Linked DNA regions of Homo sapiens: all the other regions are linked to region 1. Evidence: promoter capture Hi-C in human tissues and cell types (Jung and others, 2019). All regions are on one chromosome and are shown on one strand. Each heading gives the region's core, a stretch centred on a gene start or on the middle of the fragment in contact. The rest is flanking DNA. Distances are from core to core; before and after follow the strand shown. Region 1 holds the start of MRPL48 (mitochondrial ribosomal protein L48). Region 2 overlaps RAB6A (RAB6A, member RAS oncogene family). Region 3 overlaps MRPL48 (mitochondrial ribosomal protein L48).

The links. Contacts are between HindIII fragments. The study calls those that stand out against the background at their distance.
Region 2: a contact is called between a fragment that was not itself captured here and the fragment with the promoter of MRPL48 in region 1, in 4 of the 25 tissues and cell types used here (H1 embryonic stem cells, IMR-90 fibroblasts, mesendoderm cells and 1 more).
Region 3: a fragment that was not itself captured here is called in contact with the fragment with the promoter of MRPL48 in region 1 in 6 of the 25 tissues and cell types used here (aorta, heart left ventricle, liver and 3 more).

The regions. Positions count from the first base shown.
Region 1 is chr11:73,786,058-73,789,157 of GRCh38, reverse strand. It overlaps MRPL48 (mitochondrial ribosomal protein L48), which reads right to left and starts at 1,284. Exons shown (of 8, transcript NM_016055.6): 1 at 1,166-1,284. The coding sequence starts at 1,186. RefSeq lists enhancers at 1,071-1,150, 1,291-1,350. The HindIII fragment of the contact is 15,089 bases long and covers 1-3,100 here.
Region 2 is chr11:73,733,415-73,736,565 of GRCh38, reverse strand. The region is part of intron 1 of RAB6A (RAB6A, member RAS oncogene family); the gene reads left to right. Among named protein-coding and RNA genes, the nearest start is that of RAB6A, 26 kb to the left of the region's middle. The HindIII fragment of the contact is 8,687 bases long and covers 1-3,151 here.
Region 3 is chr11:73,836,066-73,839,292 of GRCh38, reverse strand. The region is part of intron 4 of MRPL48 (mitochondrial ribosomal protein L48); the gene reads right to left. Among named protein-coding and RNA genes, the nearest start is that of COA4, 39 kb to the left of the region's middle. The HindIII fragment of the contact is 8,765 bases long and covers 1-3,227 here.

The sequences.
Region 1 (3,100 bases), core at 35-2,534:
GCACCATATTTGGCCAAATTCTTACAAACTGGCTAAGGTGAACAAGTGAATTGTTTCATAAAGGATGAAGTGAGGCGTGGGCCCTCACACATTCAAGGGCAGCCCCAAGGTAACCACAGGTAGACCCATGAGCTGCAACGACCATGCTGACCTATGAATCATGGAAATATAGTTGCCACAATTAATGCCTAAAACAAAATTTTAATATAAATTGCTAAAATGAGTCATTAATCTAAGCAGCATGATACAATTGAAAGAGCACAAATGAAATCTGTTAAATCTGTTAAGGGAACGGGAGAAAGCCCAGGAACACATTTATAGTGGTTCATACGGTTTTATGACAGTCACTTAAATAAGGTTTTGGAAACGAAAATGTTGTTAATTATTGCAGGGCGCGGTGGCTCATGCCTGTAATCCCGGCACTTTGGGAGGCCGAGGCGGGCAGATCACGTGGTCAGGAATTCGAGACCAGCCTGGCCAACACAGTGAAACCCCGTCTCTACTAAAAATACAAAAATTAGCCCGGCATGGTGTCCCGCGCCTGTAGTCCCAGCTACTGAGGAGGCTGAGGCAGGAGAATCGCTTGAACCCGGAAGGCGAAGGTTGTGGTGAGCCGGGATCGCACCACTGCACTCCAGCCTGGGCAACAGAGCGAAATCCGTCAAAAAAAAAAAAAAAAAAAAAAGAAAGAAAAGAACAAAAACCTAGTTTATTACTGCTGTTTCCTTATTACCAGGTAGCTTCACATCCTCATCAGTTCAGCAAGTCAAAACTGCATTCTTAGAAAAAATTCTGGAAGTTGATAACTGAATGCAAATATAAAATGACCTGCCCAAGGTCACACAGTTAATCGGGACCGTATCCTGGTGTCGTGATTCCCATCGCAGAGCTCTCCCTTTTCCAGAAACTGGGTGGAGAGAGTGGCATGTGGTGTGGGCGTGGCACGGGTCGGCTCGGCAGAGTTCGCCCCGGGTGGAAAGGAATCTGCTCAGCCCCTTCAACGCCAGGCAGCCGCATGTGCTGCTGGGAAGGACCTTGGGCGCCCCAGTGTCTCATCCCCGGATGTCCGCGCGCCGCCACCTCCCCGCTCTGCACCCTCCGCCATCTCCCCTCTCTGCACCGTCCGCCATCTCCCCGCGCCCCGCGTGCGTGGAATCTACGTTACCTTTTCCAAGGTTCCGCTCATCCTTTGCTGCTGCGCGGCCTCTAGCTGTGCAAACCGAAGACCGGACCCTGCAGCCGCGTTCCCAGGGCGTCTGAAAACACTGAAGGAACGGCCTTGACCAGGTGCAGCAGCAATATCCCACCGAGACTCACTCAACTTCCACATCATTTTAGTTCCGGAAGCTTCTGAAATTCAGAGTCTAGAAATTCTCCTGCTTTCCACCCTCACTCAGGTTGTCACATTCACTGCTGTTTCTCCAGAAAGAATTAATTACCATCTCTGTGTTACCCCAGTACTTAGCACACAATTCTAATTTTTCGCTTACAATATTATACACTAATGATTTGTTACCACCTCTTCTCTGTATTTGAAAGTTCTTAAAAGACTGAGATCCTGTCTGATTAATTCCTTTCAGCGTCTAGCACAGATCTGACTTTTTTGTTTGTTTGAGACGGAGTCTCGCTCTGTTGCGCAGGCTGGAGTGTAGTGGCACGATCTCAGCTCACTGCCACCTCCGCCTCTCGGGTTCAAGCAATTCTGTCTCCAAGTAGCTGGGATTACAGGTGCCCGCCACCACGCCCGCCTAATTTTTATATTTTTACTAGAGATGAGGTTTCTCCATGTTTGTCAGGCTGGTCTTGAACTCCCGACCTCAGGTGATCCGCCCGCCTCGGCCTCCTAAAGTGCTGGGATTACAAGCGTGAGCCACCAGGCCCAGCCAATCATCTCTTAAATTGAGTTTAGAAGTCAGATTTCCACGTCCTGTGCTAGATGCTGGAATAAATTAGTCAGGATCTCAGTCCTTGAGGAACTCAATCAAAATAATAGCAAAAAATAATTAGTATCTAGTAACAAATAATTAGTATCTAGTATGGTAAGTGAAATACCAGAATTGTGTGCAAAGTACTGAGGTAACACAGATACGACAATTAATTATGCTTGGAAATATAATGGACCAGGCATACCTCCTCCAGTACAGTGATTGATTATTGCCTAATAAATGCTATTGGGGTTTTAGAAGTGAAATTTTAAATAAGAAAAAAAAAATCAATCAAATGCTAGTATGTGCCAGGTCGGTTCTTTATGGGTGTATGGGTTCATTTAGTCTTTCCAATAACCCTATGAGGCTGAGGATCATTATACCCATTTCACAGATGAGGAACAGAGACAGGAAGAAGGTACCTAGTTAACATAATGTTATATAAGTGGTGAGCTGTTTCATTTCCGTGCCTGTGCTTCATCTATTTTATGGGACTGTGACTATAGGTTTGCAAAAGGGCAGGTTGGCAGCCAGAGAGTTTCTTTCCTTGTCTAGTCCAGGTAAATACAATCTAATAAGATACATGGCCGGGTGCGGTGGCTCATGCCTGTAATCCCAGCACTTTGGGAGGCCAAGGCAGGCGGATCACAAGGTCGGGAGTTTGAGACCAGCCTGACCAAAACTGTGAAACTCCGTCTCTACTAAAAATACAAAAATTAGCTGGGCGTAGTGGTGCATGCCTGTAATCCCAGCTACTCAGGAGCCTGAGGCAGGAGAATTGCCTGAATCCGGGAGGCAGAGCTTGCAGTGAGCCGAGACGGCGCCATTGCACTCCAGCCTGGGCGACAACGAAACTCCATCCCAAAAAAAAAAAAAAAAAAAAGATACAAATCCATCTTTGCATTAATACACTCTCTGGGGTAGGTAAGGTGAAGGGAAAGGGAAAAAGAAGGAAGAAGGAGACGGTTAGTCCTTTGTACGAAGATATAAGGATTCCCAAAACAACTAGAATTTTTTTTTTGGCCGGGCGCAGTGGCTCACGCCTGTAATCCCAGCACTTTGGGAGGCCGAGGCGGGCAGATCACGAGGTCAGGAGATCGAGACCATGCTGGCTAACACGGTGAAACCCCGTCTCCACTAAAAATACAAAAAATTAGCCGGGCGTGGTGATGGGC
Region 2 (3,151 bases), core at 635-3,134, 53 kb after region 1:
CCCACCTTGGCCTCCCAAAGTGCTGGGATTACAGGCGTGAGCCACACCGCGCCTGGCCAACTGTACTTGTTTTCAATTAGGAGATACCTTCATCTAGAATTACTTTCACTGGTGAATTTCTTTTTCTTTTTTTTTTGGAGACAGAGTCTTTCTCTGTTGCCCAGGCTGGAGTGCAGTGGCACAATCTCGGCTCACTGCAACCTCCGCCTCCCGGGTTCAAGTGATTTCCCTGCCTCAGCCTCCCAAGTAGCTCAGATTGTGGGTCTCTGCCACCACACCCGGCTGATTTTTGTATTTTTAGTAGAGATGGGGTTTCACCATGTTGGCCAGGCTGATCTGAAACTCCTGACCTCAAGTCATCTGCCCGCCTTGGCCTCTCAAAGTGCTGAGATTACAGCCATGAGCCACCGCACCTGGCCTTAAAACGGTGAATTTCTCATATCTGTAATCCCAGCACTTTCCACCTGTATCGTCTGCTACTCTGGAGGCTAAGGTCAGAGGATTATTTCAACCCAGGAGGTTGAGGCCATGGTGAGCCACGATCATGCCACTGCACTCTGTTTCCAAAAAAAAAAAAGTAGGTGAATTGTATGGTATGTGATTTATCTCTCTCTGTCTCTCTCTCTCTTTTTTTTTTTTTTTTTTAAGGCAAGGTTGGGATTCCAGAAACTGCCTCCTCAAATACTGCTTATTCTCTCAAATAGACTTTTGAGGTTGGGATAGGTTTGATATTAGCAGCAAAATCCTGTAAGAGGGCCTGTAACTTCAAGATTATGTCCTGCATATGGGTTATTACAGATTTACTTGTCTGATTTATTGTTGAAGAATTTAGGTAATCTCGTATATAAGTAGAGTTACGTATTTAAATTTATTTCTTTCCAAATAAGATTGGAAAAATAAATAAAGCTTCCTAAGTTAGCTCTCTAATACTCATGGTCCTTGTTAAAGGCCTGAGATACCTTCTTTTTCTTCTAGCTAAAGTCTCCTTCAGACCTCATGTTTAAAGTTATTTTTCTCTGGAAAGTTTTTCTTTACCTTCTAGCCTTATAATAGAAGACTGCCCCCATTCACAACATGCTCTTGTACTTTTTATCACTCTGCAGTAACTTTTTGTCTCTCTGACTTAACCTTAGCAAGTACTATGTTCTGATTGTTTTTATATCCCCAGCATTTTTCAGTCCCTGGCATTTAGTATGTTCTCATTAAAAGGAAGAAATATAAGTGAGTAGGATCATTTTTCTATTATATTTGCCCTGGGCTACAAAAGTTTCAAAGATTGAGCCCTATCATTTGAATTAGAATTTATACCCAAGTTGTTTGCCAGTGGTTGTTAATACAGTCAAATGGAATGTGAATCCTACTGAGATCATTGTTGTGTCTGGCCTTCACAGAATTGCAAGAGTGTGTAATTAGCATGGTGCAGATGGTGTGATTTTAGGAATGTTATTATAAATGTTGAAATTGTGCTAGAATTTCTATTTTGTTTCTGGAGATTGCATTGAGGCAGCATAGTGAATGCAAATGTAGTTATTAAGAGATGATTTACAAATACATGCATCAAAATTTTATATTTAAACATGACTTTCAAAGGAAATGCTCATTGGAGCATTTCTCATTTCAGGCTTTTGGATTAAGGATGCTCAAGTATAATGCAAATTTTCTAAAATCTGAAATATTTATGGTTCTGAGCATTTTGGTTAAGAGATACTCAACTTGTAGTTGTCTTGTTCCTACCTACTTTTACTGAGAGACACTCTCCTTTAGTTTTTTTTCTCCTAGATTTTAGATTACTCCTGTTAGGAACCAGGCCTCACGGCAGGAGGTAAGCAGTGGGCCTGAGCTCCACCTCCTGTCAGATCAGTGCTGGCATTAGATTCTCATAGGAGCGAGAACCCTATAGTGAACTGTGCATGTGAGGGATCTAGGTTGCATGCTCCTTATGAGAATCTAATGCCTGATGATCTGAGGTAGAACAGTTTCATCCTGAAACCATCCACCGTTCCTCCTCCCCAACTCCCACAGAAAAACTGTCTTCCATGAAACTGGTCCCTGGTGCCAAAAAGATTGGTGACTGCTACTGTAGATTTATCTCCAATTTGGGTTTGCCATTTTTTTTTCTCACTATTAAACTGGATAAACTGGCCAGGTGCGGTGGCTGAAGCCTGTAATCCCAGCTCTTTGGGGGGCTGAGGCAGGTATATCACCTGAGGTCAGGAGTTTGAGACCAGCCTGGCCAACATGGTGAAACTCTGTCTCTACTAAAAATACAAAAACTAGCTGGGCGTGGTGGCGGGCGCCTGTAATCTCAGCTACCCAGGAGGCTGAGGCAGGAGAATCGCTTGACCCCAGGAGGTGAAGGTTGCAGTGAGCTGATATCGTGTCACTGCACTCCAGCCTGGGCGACAGAGTGAGACCCCGTCTCAAAAACAAACAAAAACTTGATAAACTGGGTAAATTCTTCTCCGTTATTAAACTGGAGTTTTTTTCACTTCACAAGGTGAAGTGCCCTTCTTGTCACAGTATATCAGGGGTTCTTGATAGCCACATACATATATACACTTTTTATTGGGAATGATACATATATAGTAAAGTGTTTTACTCTTTGAGAAAAAGATTTTATTTTAAAGTATAACATCCAGTAAAGGGCACAAAGTAGACAAATCTTAAATATATGGCTTGTTGGAAATTTTACTTTTTTATTCACCTTTGTAATGATTAATACCAGCACTTAGAAGATTCCTTGGCTCCCTTTCTCAGTTAGAAACCCCTTACAACTTTTCTTGACTTCTATCAGCATTAATTCTACCAGTTTTGAACGTCATATAAATAGAATTACAGAGTATATATTCTTTTGTATCTGGTCTCTTTCACTCTATGTAGTGTCTGAAATTTGTTCATACAATTTTACATGTTAGGATATTTTGTCATTGTAATATTTCATTTTATGACTATGCCACAATTTGTCCATTCTCTTTATTTATTTATTTATTTTTATTTATTTATTTTTTTTTTTTTGAGATGGTGTCTCACACCCTGTCGCCCAGGCTGGAGTGCAGTGGCATGATCTCGGCTCACTGTAACCTCCACCTCCTGGGTTCAAACGATTCTCCTGCCTCAGTCTCCTGCGTAGCTGGGATTACAGGCGCGCATC
Region 3 (3,227 bases), core at 45-2,544, 50 kb before region 1:
AGCAGCATTGTTCCTAACAGAGCACCTGGAATGGTTCCCTTACACTGCTGCTCTGAAGGTCAACCTGTCAAGAGCAGGAAGCCAATTTGAGGAAGCACAGAGAAGACAAAGAAATGGTCCTTTTACAAGGCCAGTAATACTGATGATAGACCTGATCTCACAGGAATGTTTTGAGAACTGAACAAAATACTATATGTAAAATGGTTAATACAATCTGTGGCACATAAACACTAAACATTAACTTTTATTATTATTTTCACTTTATATTCCTCCTATCTAGCACAGGGCCCAGCAAAGAGAAAACATACAATGAGTCATTATTTTAAAATTTTAGAATAGGAAGGAATTTAGAGATGCTTTTGTCCTGGTTCTTCATCTTTGCAAGGGAAGAATATGAAGCCCAAACAGATAAATGTGTTCCCCAGAATCACGAAGCCAGACAAGACAGACCCCAGGAACTAAAATCCAGACCTCCTGATCCTAGTGCAGGAATTTTTCCTCTGCATTACTAAAGTTCTTAACAGTGGTGGCCACCCCAGGGTGCTAGACCTTGCGGTGAGTGGGAAGCCAACCTCTAGAAACCAACCACCAACATGCAGGCATTTGGCTCTCTCCTCTTCAGAGCCCAACACATTCATGGCCAAATGCAGCAATCAGGACTTCTCATCGTGACAGGCAGCACTGCAGTAAGAGCTGTCTAGAATGCTGAAGTCAGAATGCAATGGAGAGTGGCTGAAATTTTCCAGCAGAGAGGGGAGGAGCTTCTCTGAAGCCTGTAGGAGGCTTTTCTTAACCACAGAAAATGCCAGGACTCTCCAAAGGTATTGCTTTAGGGGAACAAAGAAAAGAAAGCTGATCCCAGTGTCCATCTTGGCATCTCATTTGCTTTCCCATGTTGGCCTAGATCTACCTGAACCAATTCACATTATCAAGATCCCACTGTGATATTACAATACATATTTCAGTTCTGAGCCAGGGCACAGCATAGCCAGCAAGAGCTTAACTGCATATAATACCAGATGCCAGTTTCTGTCATTTTATCTACACAATTTTTCTCACATCCATCCCATTCTCTCAATGCCTACTGATTGAGTTCAGGACTTCATGAATGCCATGAGGAACTATTAAAGATATATCTGTGGGCCAGGAGTGGAGGCTCATGCCTGTAATCCCAGCACTTTGGGAGGCCGAGGCAGGCGGACCATGAGGTCAGGAGTTCAAGACCAGCCTGACCAACATGGTGAAACCCCATCTCTACCAAAAATACAAAAAAATTAGCCAGGCGTGGTGGCGGGTGCCTGTAGTCCCAGATACTCAGGAGGCTGAGGCAGGAGAATCGCTTGAACCCGTGAAGCAGAGGTTGCAGTGAGCCAAGATCATGCCACTGACTGCACTCCAGCCCGGGCAACAGTGCGAGACTCTGTCTCTAAATAAATAAATAAATAAATCTGTGCAAAGGATATACATGAATAAAGCTGTGTTTTGGGAAGCCCAACCTGACTGCACATGAAGGCCAGCCAGGCAGGAAAGGAAAGGAAGTTAGGAGAAACGTAGTAGGGAGGATGGACTACTGTCCATCATCAAACGTTGGCACTCCTATGGCCTAGATTCACTAAGGGATGGCCCAGGATTGTCATTCTTAGGTCCTTGTAGGACTGCACTCTGGTCCCCCAAATAGACTATAGGGTAAATTATGAAACAAGTTTTGTACACAAATGTTCACATTATTACCCCTATTTCACAGACAGAAAACTGAGGTCCTCTGAAGGTAAGTTATTTGCCCAAGGTTACTGAGAAACTTTGCTGGAAAGAGCAGATAAAGAAAGGAATCAAATTAGAATCATAGCCTGTTACAGCCAGAAAGGATCTTAGAGATAATTTAATCTCTCCTTCCCCCTAATTCTACACAAGGGGGAAGTTGAGACCCAGAAAAGGAAAATGGCTTGTGTAAGGTTTAACAGCAAGACAAGGGCAAAGGTAACAACTTTATGTCTATCCAGAACTGGAAGCTGAGTCTGCAGCCCCAAGCCCAGGCTCTCTCCTTTAAAGTGATAGTATCTACCCATCGCTATAAGTGACATTCTCCAGGGTGAGAAAGTTGGATAAGAATTAATCCATTATCTGAATCCTCAAACAAAAAGGCTGATATGCCTGCAGCATATTCAGCTTCCAGAAATTCTAGTGATGAAAATAACAAAATTTACACCCGAGGATTTGAATGATTTGGGGTTAAGTACTATCAACAGTCCATAATGAGCTGTGAGGTATGCAGCGATTGAGTATGTTTATAACCTGGTGTTATACACTTGAGAGACATATGGACAAAAGGCCTGGCTCTGACTGGGGTAGCAAGGAGGCATGGCCTGATGCTATATAAAGTGCACTAGACTTAGATGGAAGCCACAGAAAATCTGACCTCAAATCCTAACTATCTGCTTAGTCACTACATGACACTGTGTGACCTTTCTAGGCCTCAGTTTCCTCATCTGTAACAGCTAAAGTTATTGTGAAGCTTAATAGAGTGAATTTATATGAAATGGAAATACTAGAGATGTTAGATGAATTCTGGCCATCCTCATTCCAAATATCGGCTCTGAAAACTTCTAGCCACGTGGGCACATCATTTAATCTTTCTCTGAGTCTTGGATTCCTCAAACAGGGTCTTGAATAACCATATGATACTCTAAGGCTTAAATAATATATATGTTTATAAGGCTATAAAATGAAATAATGTCTTTAAAGCCTGGCACATAGTACTTACAGCACCTGGTATATAATAATAAGTGGCATTTTTGGAAGGGCACGGTGGCTCATGCCTGTAATCCTGGCACTTTAGAAGGGTGAGGTGGGAGGATCACCTGAGGTCAGAAGTTCGAGACCAGACTGGCCAACATGGTGAAAACCCGTCTCTACTAAAAATACAAAAAATTAGCTGGGCATGTGGTGGTGAGTGACTGTAATCCCATCTACTTGGGAAGCTGAGGCAGGGAGAATCGCTTGAACCCAGGAGGTGGAGGTTGCAGCCAGGCGCCTGTAGTCCCAGCTACTCAGGAGGCTGAGGCACCAGAATTGCTTGAACCTGGGAGCTAGAGGTTGCAGTGAGCCGAGATGGTGCCACTGCACTCCATCCTGGGTGACAGAGTGAGACCCTGTCTCAAAAAAAGTAAATAAATAAAAATAAAACTACAAAAATTAGCTGGGCATGGAGGTGCACACCTGTAATCCTG